4 separate regions of the Homo sapiens genome follow, and all the other regions are linked to region 1. The links are contacts of gene promoters, found by promoter capture Hi-C in blood cells and fetal thymus (Javierre and others, 2016). All regions are on one chromosome and are shown on one strand. Each heading gives the region's core, a stretch centred on a gene start or on the middle of the fragment in contact. The rest is flanking DNA. Distances are from core to core; before and after follow the strand shown. Region 1 holds the start of DANCR (differentiation antagonizing non-protein coding RNA). Region 2 holds the start of NFXL1 (nuclear transcription factor, X-box binding like 1). Region 3 holds the start of SRP72 (signal recognition particle 72). Region 4 holds the start of EXOC1 (exocyst complex component 1).

Region 1 (4,386 bases), core at 1,040-3,539:
TCAAAGGGAAAAGAAAGGGAGAGGGAGAGAGACGAGAGAGAGAGCAAGAAAGAGAGAGAGAGAGAAAAGAAAAGGAAGGAAGGGAGGGAGGGAGGGAAAGAAAAGAAAGAAAGAAAAGAAAGAAAGAAGGATTGATTAGACATACTAATTTCTCTAAAAAAATTAGGCCTAATAATAAACCCAATTGAAACAATTCTCTTTAAACTGCATTATAAGGATTTTTAGTACCAAATATATATTATCTTGAACCTAACTCAAAAGCAATTATAAATCAGTTTATTTTGTTCTATTGTCTCTGTATTTAATAGACATTTCTCCTCTAAGCCCAGTGAACAGTTTTACTATTTCGAATGAACTGTTTGTAAGTTCATTGAATTGAGGTATTTGGCCAGAAATGTGAAGCCTTCAGATTAAGGTGAATTTCTCTTAAATCAAACACAAATATAATTCTTTCATAATTCCTTCCCATTTTTATCCCCTGATTTGGGGAGGAGGGAAGACATTCTGCACAACTACCCCCAGCCCCTGCTAGGTTGCTGCTGAATTCCTGCATTAGTCTCTTTACTAAGGAGATTTACTTCTCTTTTCCTATATTTTCCCATGTTGCCTGACCACATGCATTGCCATAGTTAAAGGAAAGGTAATATCTCTCAGCTATCCAAAGGGACTATAAAAAGAACAGATTCCAACTAGAGATATGTTTGGAAGACTCTTGAGAAAGGTGAAGGGACAACAAACTGGTATTCACTCTCCAATTTCAACAAGATCCTATGAATATCTGCAAGATGATGACTAGGTGCTAGGGTTTATTGGTAAATTTTACTCAACTTCTTCTTCCCACCAAAACCACCTTAATCACACCCGAAACCACACCCTACATCAGATCCTATCATTCCCCTGTTAAAACACACACACACACACACAACAAACAAACAAAACACTTGAACAGCTTTCCATCATTCTTAGCACAAAGTATAAACTCTTTCACAAATACAAAAATTAACCAGGCATGGTGGTGCATGCCTGTAATCCCAACTACCCGGGAGGCCGAGACGAGAATAGTTTGAACTTGGGAGGTGGAGGCTGCAGTGAGCCAAGATCGTGCCACTATACTCCAGTCTGGGCAACAGAGCGAGACTCCATCTCAAAAACAAAACAAAACAAAAAAACTCTTCCAGGGTTTCCTGCATGGTCTGGCCCCAAGCCATTCTCATCTCAGGCCACTCTGCTCCTTAAGTTCCATTTCTGGGAGTCCTTAAACAGGTAAAGCCCTTTCCTGTTTTATCTTGGGGCTCTGGACGAGTTGTTCTTTCTGTTTACAAAGCCACACCCCACCAGAGCTGCCTGTCTTGATCTGTTAACCAAGTGTAGGCTATTTTTTGGTTTCCCTTCCTGCTCCACCCCCAACACCTGGGGAAAGGCTAGGTAGCATGTTGTTTGAGGGGCTCTGCCTTCAGGCTGCTTGAGTTCAAATCCTGGATCTACCACTGGCTAGCTGCTCTGTGACTTTGGGCAAGTTACATAACATAATTATTTCCCCATCTATAATTTGGAGATGATTAAATATATTTTGAGGATTAGATTTGTTAGCAGATGGTAAGTACGTGAAACAGCAATAGAAGTTCTCCTTTTAGCATATACTCCAATTTTCTTCTACTTATTTGTTTGCCAAGTTTGAGCCTGTTACCTTGAGATTGCTATGGTTGCCTTCTCAACCTCCCCAACTCCTACCCTCCAGCTGATTATGGTCTACTTATTGGACTCTGTAAATGAATAAAGAGGGAGCATGAGGAAAGGAGGTAGTCCTTCTAGCTTTAGGAGAGGCCACGGGAGTGAGCTTGTTGAACAAGACATGGTCGTGGCTTCTCTTTAAGCTTACGGTTTAGGCGGACACAGATGATGAACACACACCGGATTAGTGTGGCTTTAAGAAAGGGAATCCCAGGGCCTTAGGCCAACCCTGGAGTAACCTCGATGCCCTCTCCAGAAGGGCACCCGAGGAAGGGTCTAGGGCCCAAGAGCACCAAAATCACCAACGCCGGGGATTGGTAGGTAGCCTGAAAAATCTAATTCAGAGAAGGATGCTCCGCGCGCAGACATGGCTTATCCCCGTGCTACTGCATGAGCCACACCTAGGCCGGCCCCGGACACCGACAGCCAATGGCCGGGCCCGTCCCGCCCCATCCGGGATTGGCTGTGCGTGCCGCGGCCCTCCACCCCGCCCCGCTCAGGATCTTCCCGGGATTGGCTGAGCTACCCGACCTCTCCAGGGGATCGGCTGCGCGCCCCGCCCTTGCCCAGAGTCTTCCCGGGATTGGCTGCGGGCCTCGCGACCCTCCTGCTTCCCTCCCCGCCCCGCGCCGCCTCTCTGGTTTGTGCGCCCGTCGCAGGTCGCAGGCCTCTTTGTCAGCTGGAGTTGCGCGGTGAGTGCATCTCCAGTCTTCGGCTTTCGGTCTCCCGCGGGGAGGGCGCCCGGCCGGCCCGTGGGTCCGATCAGGGGCTGGGCTCGCCCGGTGTCCCCACGAGCTTTGCCCGCCTCGAGCTCCTCTGCTCCCGGCGGCCAGAACGGAGGGGTAGAGCAGCCCTCGGCGGCCCGGGGGGCGGGCGGCGGTGCCCGTCCCGGGGCTGCGCGAGGCACAGGCGCCGCGCCCAGCGGAACAGCCGGAGGTTCCCGGCGCAGGTCTGGGCACCGTAACAATTTTGCGCTTTGCTTCCCCAGGGCTGACGCGCCACTATGTAGCGGGTTTCGGGCGGGCCACGCGTGCGGGACAGGAACCCAACCCCAGCCGACCTTGAGCTCCAGGAGTTCGTCTCTTACGTCTGCGGAAGTGCAGCTGCCTCAGTTCTTAGCGCAGGTATGTTCCTAGCCTTGAGCGGGGTGGGGGAAGGAATGAGTCAGCCTGGAGCACGTGGCCAGTGGGACCGGAGGGTTCCCCGGCGTCTGTTTGTCGCCAAGGTCCGAATCCGGCTCCCCTTAACTGGAAGGAAACATCCATGTAGGGGCTCACCAAACAAAACAGCTGTGTTTCTAGTGTGGTTTCAGACTTAGAGAAGCAGAGATCCACGAGGTATTGAGAGCAACGCGGAAAATAGTAGTGAACCCTGTAAAAATCAAAGAAAAAAAATCACAAAGCACCCTTTCCTGTGCCCTTTTAAGGTTGACCCAGTGCTTTAAGAGGCTAACACAGAAGGGTAAAGTAAGTCTCCATAAAACCCAGAGAAGAGACTGGAAAGCTCCTCTTTGGATCCTGTCTGGAGTCACAACTGAACCAGAAAAAGTTTCGTTACAACTTGAGCGCCTTTGTGATTTTCTTTACAGTTTATAGAACAAGCAATACATTTCAGTTTTCTTTGGTTAAAACGTCATTTTAAAACTTTTCTTTCTATAGGTTGACAACTACAGGCACAAGCCATTGAAGCTGGAATGTCCTGTTGCTGGTATTTCAATTGACTTAAGCCAACTATCCCTTCAGTTACAATAGGAAAGTGCCTCTAATAAGGCCAAATATGCGTACTAACTTGTAGCAACCACGTGTCCGTGCAGTGCCACAGGAGCTAGAGCAGTGACAATGCTGGTGGCAACAGGGCAGTGTAGCAGGTGCTTCATGTTCACCTTTTCAACCTTTTCATTTAATTGTCACAACTCGGAGGTGGATTCTGTTAGGGACAGGCTGCCCCAGGACCACTCCGCCCCCGCTAACTCAATGCAGCTGACCCTTACCCTGAATACTCTGCAGCTGCATTCCTGAACCGTTATCTAGGCGCTATAGCAAGGTCACCAGACTTGCTACACCGAAGCCCTCTGGGTGGCACGGGGGAGGTCATGAGAAACGTGGATTACACCCCCTTGTAAATTCCTATTTTCACAAGATAATATATTGTAAGCCGGTCATGAGATTATATGTGGTAAAGTTAATTGACTAACAACCCCAGGGTCTCTCTCCCCCATATAAACCCCTCATTTTGTAAGCTCAGGGCTGCCACCTCCGACTGGTGGAGAAGCCTGGCAGGTTAATAAACTTACTTGGCCTGACCTTGGGTCTCTTGTCTTTTCTCTCGGCTAACCTTACAGATTCTATTCTCCCATTTCACAGGTAAAGAAATGGATTAGTGATAACTCAAGTTTCATCACCTGTGAGTATCTCTGAATGAGAGGCTTCACATGTATAACTTTTAGGCAATGTGACTTCTGGAAAGTCACTTGTCTCTTGAGATTTGGTGTCCTGGTGTAACAGTTAAGAATTATTTCAACCAAACTAGGAAAGGACCACAGTCGAGCTGTTAAGAATATAAACTCTTCATATTATTTCATTGCATTGAGCCTAAGAAGGTTCACAAAATTTGGCACAGAAGGAGTATCTGTCAGCATATTCTGTTTTTTTGTGT
Region 2 (4,386 bases), core at 532-3,031, 4.8 Mb before region 1:
GCTAACACGGTGAAACCCCGTCTCTACTAAAAAAAAAAAACCAAAGAACAAAAAACAAAACATTAGCCAGGCGTGGTGGCAGGCGCCTGTAGTCCCAGCTACTCGGGAGGCTGAGGCCGGAGAACGGCCTGAACCCAGGAGGCAGAGCTTGCAGTGAGCCGAGATTGCGCCACTGCACTCCAGCCTGGGCGACCAGCGAGACTCTGTCTCAAAAAAAAAAAAAAAAAAAAAAAGTTTACCAAACCTGTTCACACGTCTCCATATTGTATACCTTATCATCACGGCCATTAACTGCATGCTAAGAGAATACCACCTACCTTTCAAATTAGCCTAGGAGAAAAATCATTCAAGATACTCAATTCTGCTCCACACCCCCCAAAAAAATGTATCCTGAAATGCATTCCAAACACAAAAATAAAATGATTTCAGGGATTATTCCCTCGGCCCCATGCACAATTGTGTGTAAGTCCTCCCTGGCTCCACGAAAACATGGTCTTGGATGAAAAGTATTGATATATCGGAGGCAACACCAGATATGTCCACAGAAGGACATGGAATTTGTAAATAGGAACTACAGTCAAGGAAGGTATCAAAAGCTCAAGTGCTTACAAGGAATAAGACAAGTCAAGAAACAAAGGCAAAGGTAAAGATGACAAATGACACCTGGCTCCAGAAATGAGAGAGAATGTGAGATGGAATGCCCAAGTCCAATCTAAATGGGATTTCTGTGACTCAGCCGAGCTGACTGTTGCCATGCACAAAGATAACTAAAGCCACAAGGTTGTTAACCAGATTTTTAAAAACGACAAACAACCGCTGACAATCAATCCACATTTAAAACTCTGTGTTAACCAAACAACATTATAGACCAAATCAGAACACCGGGCCACAATTTACAACTGATGGTCTGGAGATTCAAGTAGGCAAGAGTGGAGGGAAGTAACAAAGGTAATACCACCTAAAATTAAGATGAAAGAGGTGCGATGGAAATCTACCTAGAGTGCCGAAAAGAGCAGCCACCCGAAAGGCTGGAGAAGTGGGCCCGATAACAAACTCCCGAACGAGGGGAAAAGCAGTGAAAGAAAGAAGGCGAGGGCGGAGGCGGTCCTGACTAGTAACTGCCTTAGGAGGCATCCAGGTGAGCACGCGGGCGGGAGCCATTCTCACCGCTGGCTGCGGTAGTCTGCAGGGCTTGGGATCCTGCGGGGCTGTGCCTGCTCCCTGCAGCCGCCGTGGTCGCGACTCCTCCGGGACTGGTGCCAGAAGGAACTGCGCCCACCGACCCCTTCTCTCGCCCTCCTCCGGCGCCGCGGAGATGGACTCCATTTCCTGAGGGGGCGGCAGTGGCCCGTCCCCGGGATCGGCCTCGGCCACCGGCCACCTGGCGCCAGGAAGCTTCCATCCCTGCAAAGGAGAAAAAAAAAAAAAAGAGTGGAAGGAGGTGAGCGCAGCGAGGACCGAGGCGAAGGAGGGTCAGTGCGGAAACCCGGTGTGAGGGGCCGAGTGAGGAAGGTTCCTGCAGGGCGGCGACCGGGTTTTAGGAGGTCGCGGCCCTGCCTTTACCGGAGGGCGAGTCCCCGCCAAGCCCGGGCTTTGGAGATGGACCGAAGAGGGGAGGGAGGACTAGGTACAGAAATAAACCGCGGAGCAAGAAGCACACAGTGCCGAAGACAGAAAGCCGGAGGAGAAGTCGAAACCGCCTCCTCAGCCTCTGCGGGAGCGTGGTAGGGGAAGAGTCACAGACTGACCCTGCGTCTCCCGCCGGGAACCAACTGCAGTGGTACACCCCACGGAAAGCTACGTCTCCTTACCGACTGCGCACGCCCCCAACAGACTACAACTCCCAGAAGCCCCCGCCCGCGTTCCGGCGACTGCGTGGCAGCACGGGCCGCTTCCTTATCCGGTAAAGTGCGGGGGTTGGGTGGGAGGGAAACCCCAAGCGCCTGCGCTGGCCCGAACAGGCCTTTGGGAACTACAACTCCCGGCGTGCTCTGGGGCTAGGGAGGGGTCGAAGGTCATAGGGGCGCGTGGTGGTGGAGGCGGGCGGGTCCGGAGGGTTTCGTGACCCCACAATTTGCTTCTGCTTCTGCAAGACTGCCCTAAACTCACCTGGGTATGAGGATTACATGGCTCTGTCCCTAATTGGCTCTCTGCCATCTTTTATTAGCCTTGCCTTTGAGCTTGCGGATGACAGGAGGTGTCAATGTAAAATAATCAAAAGCGCGAAGTTTGAGGATAGCCTACCTAGAAACACCGACTCCAAGGAAGGAGTCAGCGTTCCGAAGTAGAGATTTAAGATTTCACTTATATAGGCAGAAACTGAGAGGTTTTTTAGCAGGATTACAGCATTTTCTCATACAAGGTTAGAGAATAGTTACAACAATTTGATTATAGACAGTGTTTCTTTTTGGGAAGTGTACATTTAACATTTTTCATAAAGGATTTTCTGTCATCTGGTCTAAGCAAACCGGGGCAACAAAGCAGAAGTTAATCTATAAGGATCATTAAGAAGGCAGGAAGTTTTTGTCCTTAACTTCGTTTAATTCTCTCTAGCCATTGTATAGAACAAGAAAAATAAGAAAGCAAGTTAATCTATAATCTGAGAAACAGAAGTTGTAACCACGTGTAACTCAGATGACAGTCACATCTCTCTCCAGGCTTAGTGAGTTTTAGGCTCCAACAACCTTTAAACTATTTATTTTCATAGGGAAGTCTCACTAACAGGAAAGGCACTTACATTGAAAACGCTTTGAGGTTGGCCACTGTGAAGGAGGGAAATTCGGGGGAGAGTTGCAGGAAAGTGGCTTGAGTAGTAAAAGTACCCTTCTAAAATGCTAGAGCCAATGTAGAAAATAAATCTAAAGCCTGTTATTGTCATAGTCCTTTGTAGTGTGCAATGAGCTTTCCCTGGGACATGCTAATTTTTACCTTCACAGCATCTCCCTAAAGTAGATTTTGTTAAGGAAAATAGTTGAGGGCCAGGACCTAAATCTTATGATTTTGCTGAGTTTTCCAATAAGATACATGTGCATATATACTGACAGGTAGATTGCAAAAATTCATTCTGGGGTCTGTCTGGGATTGAGAAACATATTGATGGCTTATTGTACAGTCCTTCAACTTAGTTAATTCTTCTATTTTAACCATAAATTTCTATTATAATATTTAGATAGCATTTATTAGATGTCAGGCACTGTTTAAAGTGTTTTACGTTATGTATTAACTAATTTGGTACTCACAGTAACCGTGTTTATTATCCCCGTTTTACAACTGAGAACACTGAGGCACAGAGAGATTAAGCAATTTGCCCTTGATCATACAGCTAGGAAGTAGTGAAGCCAAGATTCAATCCTAAGTAGTCTAGTATTAGAAACCATGCTTTTAATGTCTTAAACATAGATATTGCAGAATTGCCTGTACATTAACCAAACTCAAAAATGACATCCCATGGCCAGGCATGGTGGCTCACGCCTGTAATCCTAGTACTTTGGGATGCCAAGGCGGGTGGATCACCTTAGGTCAGGAGTTTGAGGCAAGCCTGGCCAACATGGCGAAACCCTGTCTCTATTAAACATACAAAAATTAGCTGGGCATGGTGGTGGGTGCCTATAATCACAGCTACTAGGGAGGCTGAGGCAGGAGAATTGTTTGAACCCAGGGGGCGGAGGTTGTAATGAGCCAAGATCGCGCCACTTCACTCCAGCCTGGGCAAAAGAGCAAAACTCCGTCTCAGAAAAATGAAAAGAAGAAAAGAAATAACATCTCTGAGAATGATATAACTTCATTGGCTAGAAACTAACAGGTGCACAGCAACTCTCTTAATGCTGCACTTGTATAAGAACTGTAAGTTTAAAGCTGCAACCAGCTTTCAAAGTTTGAAAACCCTAAAGTGAGACTTTTCTTCAGTGGGGTTTTCACATACAGGAAAGGAGCTGTTATACTCTGAGAGAGAATATAGTAATTATCACTGAGTAATGTCCAAGAAGTATTGAGTGGCTACTAAAAAGAGAGATCCTTCTTAGAATTATGTTATATGCCAGAGAGCTGGACTAGCATATTATCTAAATTTCCATGTCAAACTTTATTGAGAAATTTTTTCTGTTCCCTCAAATATTCAATAGCTAATAACAGTGACCAGCAATCCTTGAGTGCTTTCTATGTGCCAGCATTCTTCTAGGTCCTTTTTTCTTTTACTCATCTAATCTTCACAATAACCATGAAGTAGGTATTGTTATCGTCAAAACAATTTTTTTTTATTATACTTTAAGTTCTAGGGTACGTGTGCACAATGTGCAAGTTTCTTACATAGGTATACATGTGCAATGTTGGTTGGCTGCACACATCAACTTGTCATTTACATTAGGTATTTCTCCTAAAGCTATCCCT
Region 3 (4,386 bases), core at 878-3,377, 3.8 Mb after region 1:
CTAATTCACAAGAATTACACCCTCCAGCACCTAGAGTTCAAGCCACCTTTCATGCTCTTTGCATTGTATATACTGGAAGGACCAGACAAAAATATGGCAGGGCACCATATGCCATATCAGGAGCTGGGCAGTTTCTGCCCTCAAGGAACTCAAGATTAGGCAAGGAATGTGAAACAAAAAATGCCAACTATGTGCCAGGCAGTATGCTAGATCCTAGGGATACTGCAGTGAGCAAGGTAAATATGGTTCCTTGGCCTCAGAACTATAGTCCATACAGAGTGAGATAACCCTTAATTATCAGTGCTCAGAAGTGGAGTCCTATAGGGAGTCTCCCAACCTTTTTGGCACCAGGGACCGGTTTCAGGGAAGACAATCTTTCCACAGGAGTTGGACAGCTGGTTTCAGTATGATTCAAGCTCATTACATTTCCCATTAGATTCTCTTAAGGAGTGAGCAACCTAGATCCTTCACATTCCCAGTTCACAATAGGGTTTGAGCTGTGAGAAGCTAATATCACAGCTGATCTGACAGGAGCTCAGGCGGTACTGCTCACTGGCCCACCGATCACCTACTGCTGTGCCGCCCGGTTCCTAACAGGCTGCAGACCAGTACAAGGGTTGGGGACCCCTGTTCTAAGAGGATGCAACCAGAAGGCTGCCCAGTCTGCAAGATCAAATGTTTCCTCAAAGTAACTTTCAACGTATAACCAGAAAGACTGAAAGACAAAAAGTAGTTAGCAAGGCCGGGCACGGTGGCTTACGCCTGTAATCCCTGTACTTTGGGAGGCTGAGAGAGGGCGGATCACTTGAGGTCAGGAGTTTGAGACCAGCTTGGCCAACACAGTGAAACCCCATCTCTACTAAAAATTCAAAAATTAACCGGGCGTGGTGGCTCATGCTACTTGGGAGGCTGAGGCAAAAGAATCGCTTTAACCCAGGAGGTGGAGATTGCAGTGAGGTTCATCCTGGGTCACAGAGCTAGACTACGTCTCAAAAAAAAAAAAAAAAAAAAAAAAAAAAAGCTAGGTTCCTGAGGGACACAGGAAGTAGTAGAAGTTGTAAAGGTCATGACGAGATATGAGTCTGAAGAGCAGGCCATTCAATGAAATACAACATTCACATCAAGTGAATCACTCACATCGTCTTGGTGTGGTGGCTCATGCCTGTAATCCCAGCACTTGGGGAGGCTGTGGTGGGAGGATTGCTTGAGCCCAGGAGTTCCAGACCAGCTTGGGCAACACGGCAAGATCCCCGTCTCAAAAAAAAAAAAAAATCACTCACATCAAGTGTACCCAACAGATATCCATTCCCTTCGTACATCTGAACACATCTTGATATTAACGGTCGCAAGCAAACCCTAATATTTTATATCTCTAGAACAAATATAGTATCCCCATTTCACAATCGGGAAAACAGACTCCCAGAAGCTAAGTAACTTGTTTATTGTCAGACATCTAGTGAGTCGCAGAGCCAGGGAACTGACCACGGGCATTTTCACCCCATTACCCTTCCAGCTTATTGCCGACTGCTCCCGAAGGGAGCGAAAAGGACAGGCAAAGGGTTTCACCAAACCCTTTGTAATGGGAGATTCTTGCCTTCTTACCTTTCCTCACGTTTGCTTCTCTGCCAGAATGTCTTCCCGCACTTTCCCCAGAACCCAAGTTCTCCTAATCATCTTTCAAGATCCCTTTCCCTCAACCACAGATGAGCCGTGCCTATTTCTCCTTCAAATGACTCCCTATGGCTTCTAGTTGGTAGTCTTTTATTTACCACCTCATAGTCCTTTTATTTATATCCCATAAATGATCGTCCGGCCCCGCACCGTGGGACCAGGACGCTGCCTCGACCATGGCGGTCTCCTGGAAACAGGCTGCTTTGAGCCGAAACTGGTGACCGTTTCCCAACCCCGTCCAGGAGTCCGACGCCTCTTTTCTCCAGGCCAACTTCAAGTGAGGTGTATCAACTCTATCCGCACAAATTTCTTGCCACGAGAGCAGAAGATTATGATCTCTGATGCTGCCTTAGGGCTGAAGACACTCCCAACTCGGCGACGCTTAGCAATCATCGACTTCCTCCTCCTCTTGGCTGCCTCGGAGATCCTGTTCCGGGGCAGAGGTCTCCCCGCCCCGCCCCTCGTCTCCTCCAAGATGGCGAGCGGCGGCAGCGGGGGGGTGTCAGTACCTGCGCTGTGGAGTGAAGTGAACCGGTATGGCCAGAACGGCGACTTCACGCGCGCTCTCAAGACCGTCAATAAGAGTAAGTGTCGGGGTGGGCACTGGGGCGGGCCCAGGCCGGCTGGAGGATGCGGCCTGTTTCCGGCGCGCGAGACCACCTCGCGCGGGAGGCACGGGAAGGGGAGACCCCCGAAACCCCCCCGTCTATTGTCCGCCCGGCTCGGGCCCTAGCGCCCGGAAGACGCAGGTCTCACTCCTCGGCTTCACCAGGCCAGCCTGGGGTCCCTGGTTGCTTACAGCCACGTGTACTTCTCTTTTTACCCTCCGCGGGAAGCGAGGGAAGGTTTTAAAGAGACCGCAGCTCCCGGAGTCCATTTCAAACTGTTTTCTTATTTGACTCCTTTGCTGCTTTATTTCACAAATATTCCAAAGTGCCTCCTTTTCTTCTTCGTCTTGAGCGCAGTGATCAGGACTCTATTGCTGAGGGAGCTTGTTCTCTTTGGCCGCTAAAGGGGGAGGAACCTGCTTGGGACACGTAGTTTAGAGGCTGGTGCTAACCAGGTGGAAGCTGTACGGGTTCTACGGGGCGAGAGGAAAGGGCTGGATCTGGATGTCAGGCCTGTCATTCCCATAGATGAGATCTCTTCAGTGTTATTAAGTTAGGAAATATGTGTGTGGAAGCACCAACACTTGAAATAATGTCGGAAGAAAAGTTTGGCCTGTTTTTTTGCCCTGTAAGGGATGATTTCGGTTTTTACCGCCTTTGGTGTGAGGTTTAATTCATCATATTCTTTTGTTCCTTACTACATACCTGGAATATGGCCATGCTGCTTAATGTTCTCGGTGGTGCGCAGTTCTTCTCTACTGAAGATACAGCCTGTGCATGTTAGATTTGGAAATGTAATTACCAAGGCAGGGCTTAGCTGTTCAGAGTAGCAGTAACCTAAAAGGTGTGTCAGTAACATGCAAAGCTATCTAAGTAATTTTCAACACTCTAGTACTGGGTTAACGTGAAAAGTAGTGATTGTGCCCACAGTGCACTTTTGGTGATTTCAGACATTGAGGAAAATAGCTACGAATTAGAATTATTTGATCCCTAAATTTGTTTGAATTAACTCTAGCCTTCCAACCAGTACTGTATACTTAGTATAGTATTTTGCAGGAATTCTTTAATCAGCAAAGATTGTCAACTTGTTTACCAGTATGTTTTCTTAATTGGTAGAAATTCTTGTGATTCTTTGAGAATTGGACTTCTGTAGTTGCACAGGAGCAAGAGTAACTATGATCCTGGTCATTTTAACACCGAACAGTTGTTAGCGTTGAAACTTGCCACCTGAGTTCTTCCTTATACTTTGGTCATCTTAGTTGAAAAGGGGAAATTTTAATGATTTTTGGAAACGTTGCCAGCAAGATAAATTGCCTTTGTATTATACTTTATAAGATTTTTCCAAAATATTCATTTCATATTGTCAGTAACCTTATTAAATAGGTAATGCTTTTCTAATCATTTTGTAGCTAAGAAAACTGAGATTTGGCTGTTAAGTGATATGCCCAATACCTCAAAGCATTTAGTGGCAAGCTTGCACCAAACCTAGGTCATTTGCTTCCAAATTCTACCTGAACTTTTTCCCTGTGAAGTAATGAACTATGTAGAATGTAGCATGCATTTCAAGATGAAATATCTGGAGAAATTGCTTCTTTCTTCTTTATTTCACTGCACTTTTTTGGTACATGTATATTGGGAATCTTTATCTCATTGAAAATTTAATCTATAACTCTCCTTATTGTCACTTCTTAAGTTAAAAGCAAAGATTAGTTGTTTTCTGGGTTTGTTTTGTTTTGTTGCTGTTTCTTCCAGTTGTTCTGACCAATTATTTCTGTTGCAATAAAAGTAGAAATTTAGCTTTCGGAGAGACAGGGTGGGAAAATTTAGTAAAAATGTGAAAAGGAAATGGATTTAAAAATGACTTTTCCTAAAATTGTTCTCTAGTACTACAGATCAACAAAGATGACGTAACTGCCCTGCATTGTAAAGTGGTATGCCTTATCCAGAATGGAAGTTTCAAGGAAGCTTTGAATGTCATCAATACTCACACCAAAGTGTTAGCCAAGTAAGTGATTCAGTTAGTTGCTTGTACAGTTATTAGAAACACTTACTATAGCTATAATCTCTTCCATGTTTTTTCCCAACTATTTGCTGATTTTTTTTAACG
Region 4 (4,386 bases), core at 1,350-3,849, 3.1 Mb after region 1:
TATACAATATGTCAAAATGTAGCAAGAACCATGAAGAACAAAAGTAAAAAAGGAAGATAAAAAATACTGGGAGGAGGGTGGTTGGGGAACTATTTTACATAGGGTTCTCTTGGAAGGCCTCAGTGAGGTAACATTTGAGCAAAGACTTGGAAGCAACATGGTAGTAAGCCATGCAGACTGAGGCATGAGAATTGCTTGAACCCAGGAGGTAGGAGGTTGCAGTGAGCTGAGATCATGTAAGTGTACTCCAGCCTGGGTGACAGAGCGAGACTCTGTCTCAAAAAAAAAAAAATTAGTATTTGCTAGATTGCAATAATTGGTTCTTCAGGAGTTGAGTGGGGAATGCTGCCACCAGGATAAACACTATGGAATTCATTGCACTTCAAACTTTTACTTAGTTACCTTGTGCTTCTTACGGAAGTGGACAAGCTGGCAAAGAAAGGAGTTACTATGCTCGTGGGAGTAATCAACTGTGATTAGCAAAAGGATCTAGGATTGTTGCTCCACAATAGCACTAGGGAGGAATTTGGAATCCAAATAATTCGCTGGGGCTTACTAGGTGTTTCTGTACCCAGGGATAATTTGAACAGGTAATTACAGCAATCATGGCTTAACCAGAGAAAGGAAAATAAAGGCTGAAGGTGGGGGCTATTTCACCAGAGAAACAACTTAGACCAGCTGATGTGCTGGTCAATGGTGAGGGAAAATTAGAATGGGTAGTGGAAGAGGGAGTTAATACAAGTATGGTCCTGACATTGATGCAGCAGTAAAAACTGAAGCTTATTCTATTAACTCTCTTATATTAAGGCTTTGCTGAGATTGTGGCTGGCCATCACCTTGAAGAGACCTCTGTGAAGGACTGAACATAACAGAGCACACAGGCAGATCAGAGTGCTGCAAGATATGGACACCTTCTATGTCCTTCTGTGCAACTTAGGCCATGACTTCAAATCCCTTCAGCCTATTATTCTAACCACTGCTGCAGCAACCTGCTCGGAGCAGGTTTGATGACCTTTGAACAAGTGCGAAATACCAGCACCTCTCCTCTCACTTCCTGCCCCAGCATGTCTCTGATGTGGGAGTCAGCTTGGCATTCACAACTGTGCGATTTGTAAGTGTGAAGTAGTTAATGCCCAAGGGCATTAACCTTCGATCAAAGAGGACAGGAGCCGACATACAAATGCTTCCTCCGTTCTTTCCTTTAATGGACAGTTCTGAGACTCATTTCATAAAGCTTCTTAGAAGGTCCTAAGGGACTAAGAAAACATTCAAATATGGTGATGACCAACTCAGTAACACATTCTTATACTGCATCTCCCTTTTTGTTTTGTCTTCTTCCTCTTCCCTCATTTTGCTCCCTGGGATCAAATTTCCAAATAAACTATTGCATATAAGTGTCACTTTGCAGGGAATCCAAGAGGAGAGAGGATAATTTAATTTTTGGACACACAAGTTTGAGGTGTCTATAAGACATCCAAGTGGAAATGTCAGGCGATGGGCAGTATATACACAAATCTTGAGGTTCAAGAAAGAGATCTAGGCTTCTGAAATGCAATTCATTTCCCAACTTTGAGGAGGGCTATAAACATACAGGTAAATAAAAGAAAGATAATAGGACCAAAAAACACATGCAATTGTCATAGAGTGTCCACAGTAAGCATTCCGGTGCCAAGCAGGAAAGGGTCTTTGTAAAGATATAACCAGATCCTGCTCTTAAAAGGGAAGTCATTTGATGAAAGTGAAAAGTATTCTAACTACTGTTTGCTCATTTAAATTTCTAGCACATTTATCTGATCTGTACCTCTCTTTGGTCACTTATTTTGTGTCCTATTTTATATATATTTGTACCTACACCTTGTCTAGTCCTACCACACTGTGAACTCCTTTAGGTTAAGATTCATGCCTGAATCACCTCTGTACCTGGAATCAAAGTGCCTAGCATTAAAAAAAAAAGGTGCCAGGAATATTGAATAAATAAAACACCTACCTGCAACCAGCAACATTGGCATCATTTATGCATCCCAAACTTAAATATGCATAAGCATCATCTTGCTAAGATGCAGATTCTGATTCAGTAGATCTGAAGTGAGCCAGAGAGGCTGCATTTCCTAAAAAGCCCCCAGATGATACCCAAGCAGCTGATCCACGGACCACACTTTGAGTATCAAGGTCATGAGGACAATGGTTCTTGACCTTAGCTGCATATGAGAATCATCTGGGAAGATATTAAAAGTACTGATGTCTGGGTCCCACCCGCAGGGATTCTGATTTAACTCATTTAAGCTCTCCAAAGTTTAAGTAGCAAAGATCTAGAGTTAATAGAGCTTTACGTATGAAAAAAGAAAACATTTAATCGAATTTCTTCTTAAATGAATTGCTGCAAATATCTGAATAAATAACTCTTAATCCCCAACTCCCAAGTCAGTTTCTGTGCCACAAAGGCCCCGCCCCTGCCCTTCCCTGACACGCCCCTCCAATGAGGCCTTGTTCCGCCTGGCCACGCCCGTCGGTTGGCGCCCCGCCCCTCCGCGTCTATTGGCCGCTCCCTTTTTCTCCCATCGCTGCTTCTTCCTTCTCTACGCGGTCAACTTCCGGCGCGGAGTTTGTCACGTGCCCGGATATAGGAAGTGTTGGGGGAACGGCCGCTTCCCGTTCAACGCTTTATTGAGGGGCGTATCCTAGTGGCCCCCATCCGGTCTCCGTTTTGGAAGACCCGCCTCGGCACAGCCAGGCTCAGTCCGGCCTTGCGGTAAGCCTTCGGCCGCGGCTGCCCGGTAGTCCCGGCGGCGGCGGACAGACGAGCTGACAGGCACCAGGGTCTAAGGCGGCTCCTCAGTCCGGCTGCTGTCTCCACGCCTGGGGTCGGGCACCGCTCCTTCTGACCTTCCTTTCCCCGTTTGTCCCGGTAAGACGAAGTTTGGTCAGAGCATTCTCCAGTCCCTTGTCCTCGGGTCTAGGAGAATGCGGAGCTGGGAGGGCAGTCCTCACGGGCCCCATTACGGTTCCGCCCATCGGAACCAGATTTTGTTTGTGCAAAATGACCCTGATCGTAAGCTCTTTGGCGTGGTCCAGGAGAGGAGAGCGTGACTGTGCCTTCCTCTTTGTCCAAATTCACATCCCGGCCCCCCAACCCCAACTCCCCCCCACCCCCCGCCAAATCTCTTAAGTGTATTTCTCTATTTCCTTGCACAGTTATATCTTCTAGATGGCAATGCTTCATGCATTAATATATCTCAGCAGCATACAGGGCCCAATGCACACGGGCACTCACACTGACAGGCTATTTGTCACACAGTGTGGTGGTCCAACTGAGCTGAAGGAAACAACCAGTACAGAGTAAGCAGTGGATGGCTGCCTTTGGAACGTGGTCAGATATGGGTTCTCAGACCTGGAGAATAATTTTAGAGGACCTCTAGGGATTTATTTACTGACTTTCAGAAAAGTACCGTAAAGACTGAAGAGTTAATCACTCGACTCTTAGGATGTAAATGCCATAGAAACACCCGGCTTCAGGTCTTCATAAACATATCTGTCATGTTGACTACTGTAACCTAGAATAGTGTCTGCCACCTAATAAGCATGAGTATTTGCTGAATGAATGAAGAGTCACATACTGCTTTTCATTATGGCTAACTCCTTTATGAGGTATGCCCAATCCTGTCTTGTTTTGCCTCTTACTGTACACTCAGTTGCTTTTAGCCAGAGAAGGAGTATGTGGTAAACGTTGGTCCCTATTATTCATTTGACCAGTTTTTACTATTCAGTTCTAATTACCTTAATAGATATTTAAGTATCCACTAAACACAAAACTATGATGAACATCCCTCCCTTCTTTAAGAGAATTCTTGAGATAGAGAAGCTTATGATTTAATGAGCCCATTAGACGGCAAATGCAGTAAGTGCTGTAGAAATTTAGAGGAGAGATCACTTTGGATTAAGATCTTCATTGAATCAACTTCATGTAAACCATGAAGTGTAATTAGGGTTTGGATAGGGCGGAGATGATATTCCTTACATGGAAAGTACCAAAGTGAAGATTTGATGTCCAAAATGAACAGAGTGTTTGGAGTGGAATGTTTTTGAGAACATTAGGAAAACGTTGAGTAAAAGCGTGATGTGATACAAACTGTCTTTTAAAATTATCTTGTTGTTCAGGGTTGTGGGACCTTGCAAAGAGAACCAGATTTTGTAGGGTTAAGTAAAGTTGATATGAACCTGGGTCAGTATATTTGCAGTGCGAAAAGAAAGGAATAAATTACATGTAGATGGGGGGAAATCGCAGAATGTGGTAGCAGATTTCATGTTGATAAGGGAATAGGGAAGCAAATATGGTAGATTTTGAACCTGGACATTTGCTTATAGATGTGAAAGTTAGGAAAGGGGAAT

The links. The method cuts DNA at HindIII sites, captures the fragments that hold promoters and counts their contacts. A CHiCAGO score of 5 or more calls a contact.
Region 2: the fragment with the promoter of NFXL1 here is called in contact with the fragment with the promoter of DANCR in region 1 in 1 of 17 cell types (activated CD4 T cells); the score reaches 5.4 in activated CD4 T cells.
Region 3: the fragment with the promoter of SRP72 here is called in contact with the fragment with the promoter of DANCR in region 1 in 1 of 17 cell types (naive CD8 T cells); the score reaches 6.4 in naive CD8 T cells.
Region 4: a contact is called between the fragment with the promoter of EXOC1 here and the fragment with the promoter of DANCR in region 1, in 4 of 17 cell types (activated CD4 T cells, naive CD8 T cells, total CD4 T cells and 1 more). The highest score is 6.1, in activated CD4 T cells.

The regions. Positions count from the first base shown.
Region 1 is chr4:52,710,105-52,714,490 of GRCh38, forward strand. DANCR (differentiation antagonizing non-protein coding RNA) reads left to right here and starts at 2,290. Exons shown (of 5, transcript NR_145129.1): 1 at 2,290-2,423; 2 at 2,720-2,855; 3 at 3,390-3,438; 4 at 4,095-4,134. MIR4449 (microRNA 4449) reads left to right here and starts at 2,578; the gene lies at 2,578-2,643. It overlaps SNORA26 (small nucleolar RNA, H/ACA box 26), which reads left to right and starts at 3,145; the gene lies at 3,145-3,266. RefSeq lists silencers at 2,096-2,929, 2,104-2,673 and an enhancer at 2,924-2,973. The HindIII fragment of the contact is 6,853 bases long and covers 1,873-4,386 here.
Region 2 is chr4:47,912,802-47,917,187 of GRCh38, forward strand. It overlaps NFXL1 (nuclear transcription factor, X-box binding like 1), which reads right to left and starts at 1,782. Exons shown (of 23, transcript NM_001278624.2): 1 at 1,564-1,782; 2 at 1,168-1,404. The coding sequence starts at 1,402. It overlaps LOC101927157 (a long non-coding RNA gene), which reads left to right and starts at 1,426. Exons shown (of 3, transcript NR_125879.1): 1 at 1,426-1,903. RefSeq lists enhancers at 650-1,336, 1,337-2,022, 1,533-1,762. The HindIII fragment of the contact is 5,032 bases long and covers 1,394-4,386 here.
Region 3 is chr4:56,465,490-56,469,875 of GRCh38, forward strand. SRP72 (signal recognition particle 72) reads left to right here and starts at 2,128. Exons shown (of 19, transcript NM_006947.4): 1 at 2,128-2,255; 2 at 4,164-4,284. The coding sequence starts at 2,147. LOC124900706 (a long non-coding RNA gene) reads right to left here and starts at 2,069. Exons shown (of 2, transcript XR_007058126.1): 1 at 1,603-2,069. RefSeq lists an enhancer at 1,973-2,182. The HindIII fragment of the contact is 5,513 bases long and covers 1-3,750 here.
Region 4 is chr4:55,851,049-55,855,434 of GRCh38, forward strand. It overlaps EXOC1 (exocyst complex component 1), which reads left to right and starts at 2,600. Exons shown (of 19, transcript NM_001024924.2): 1 at 2,600-2,905. RefSeq lists a silencer at 2,392-2,491. The HindIII fragment of the contact is 2,625 bases long and covers 1,233-3,857 here.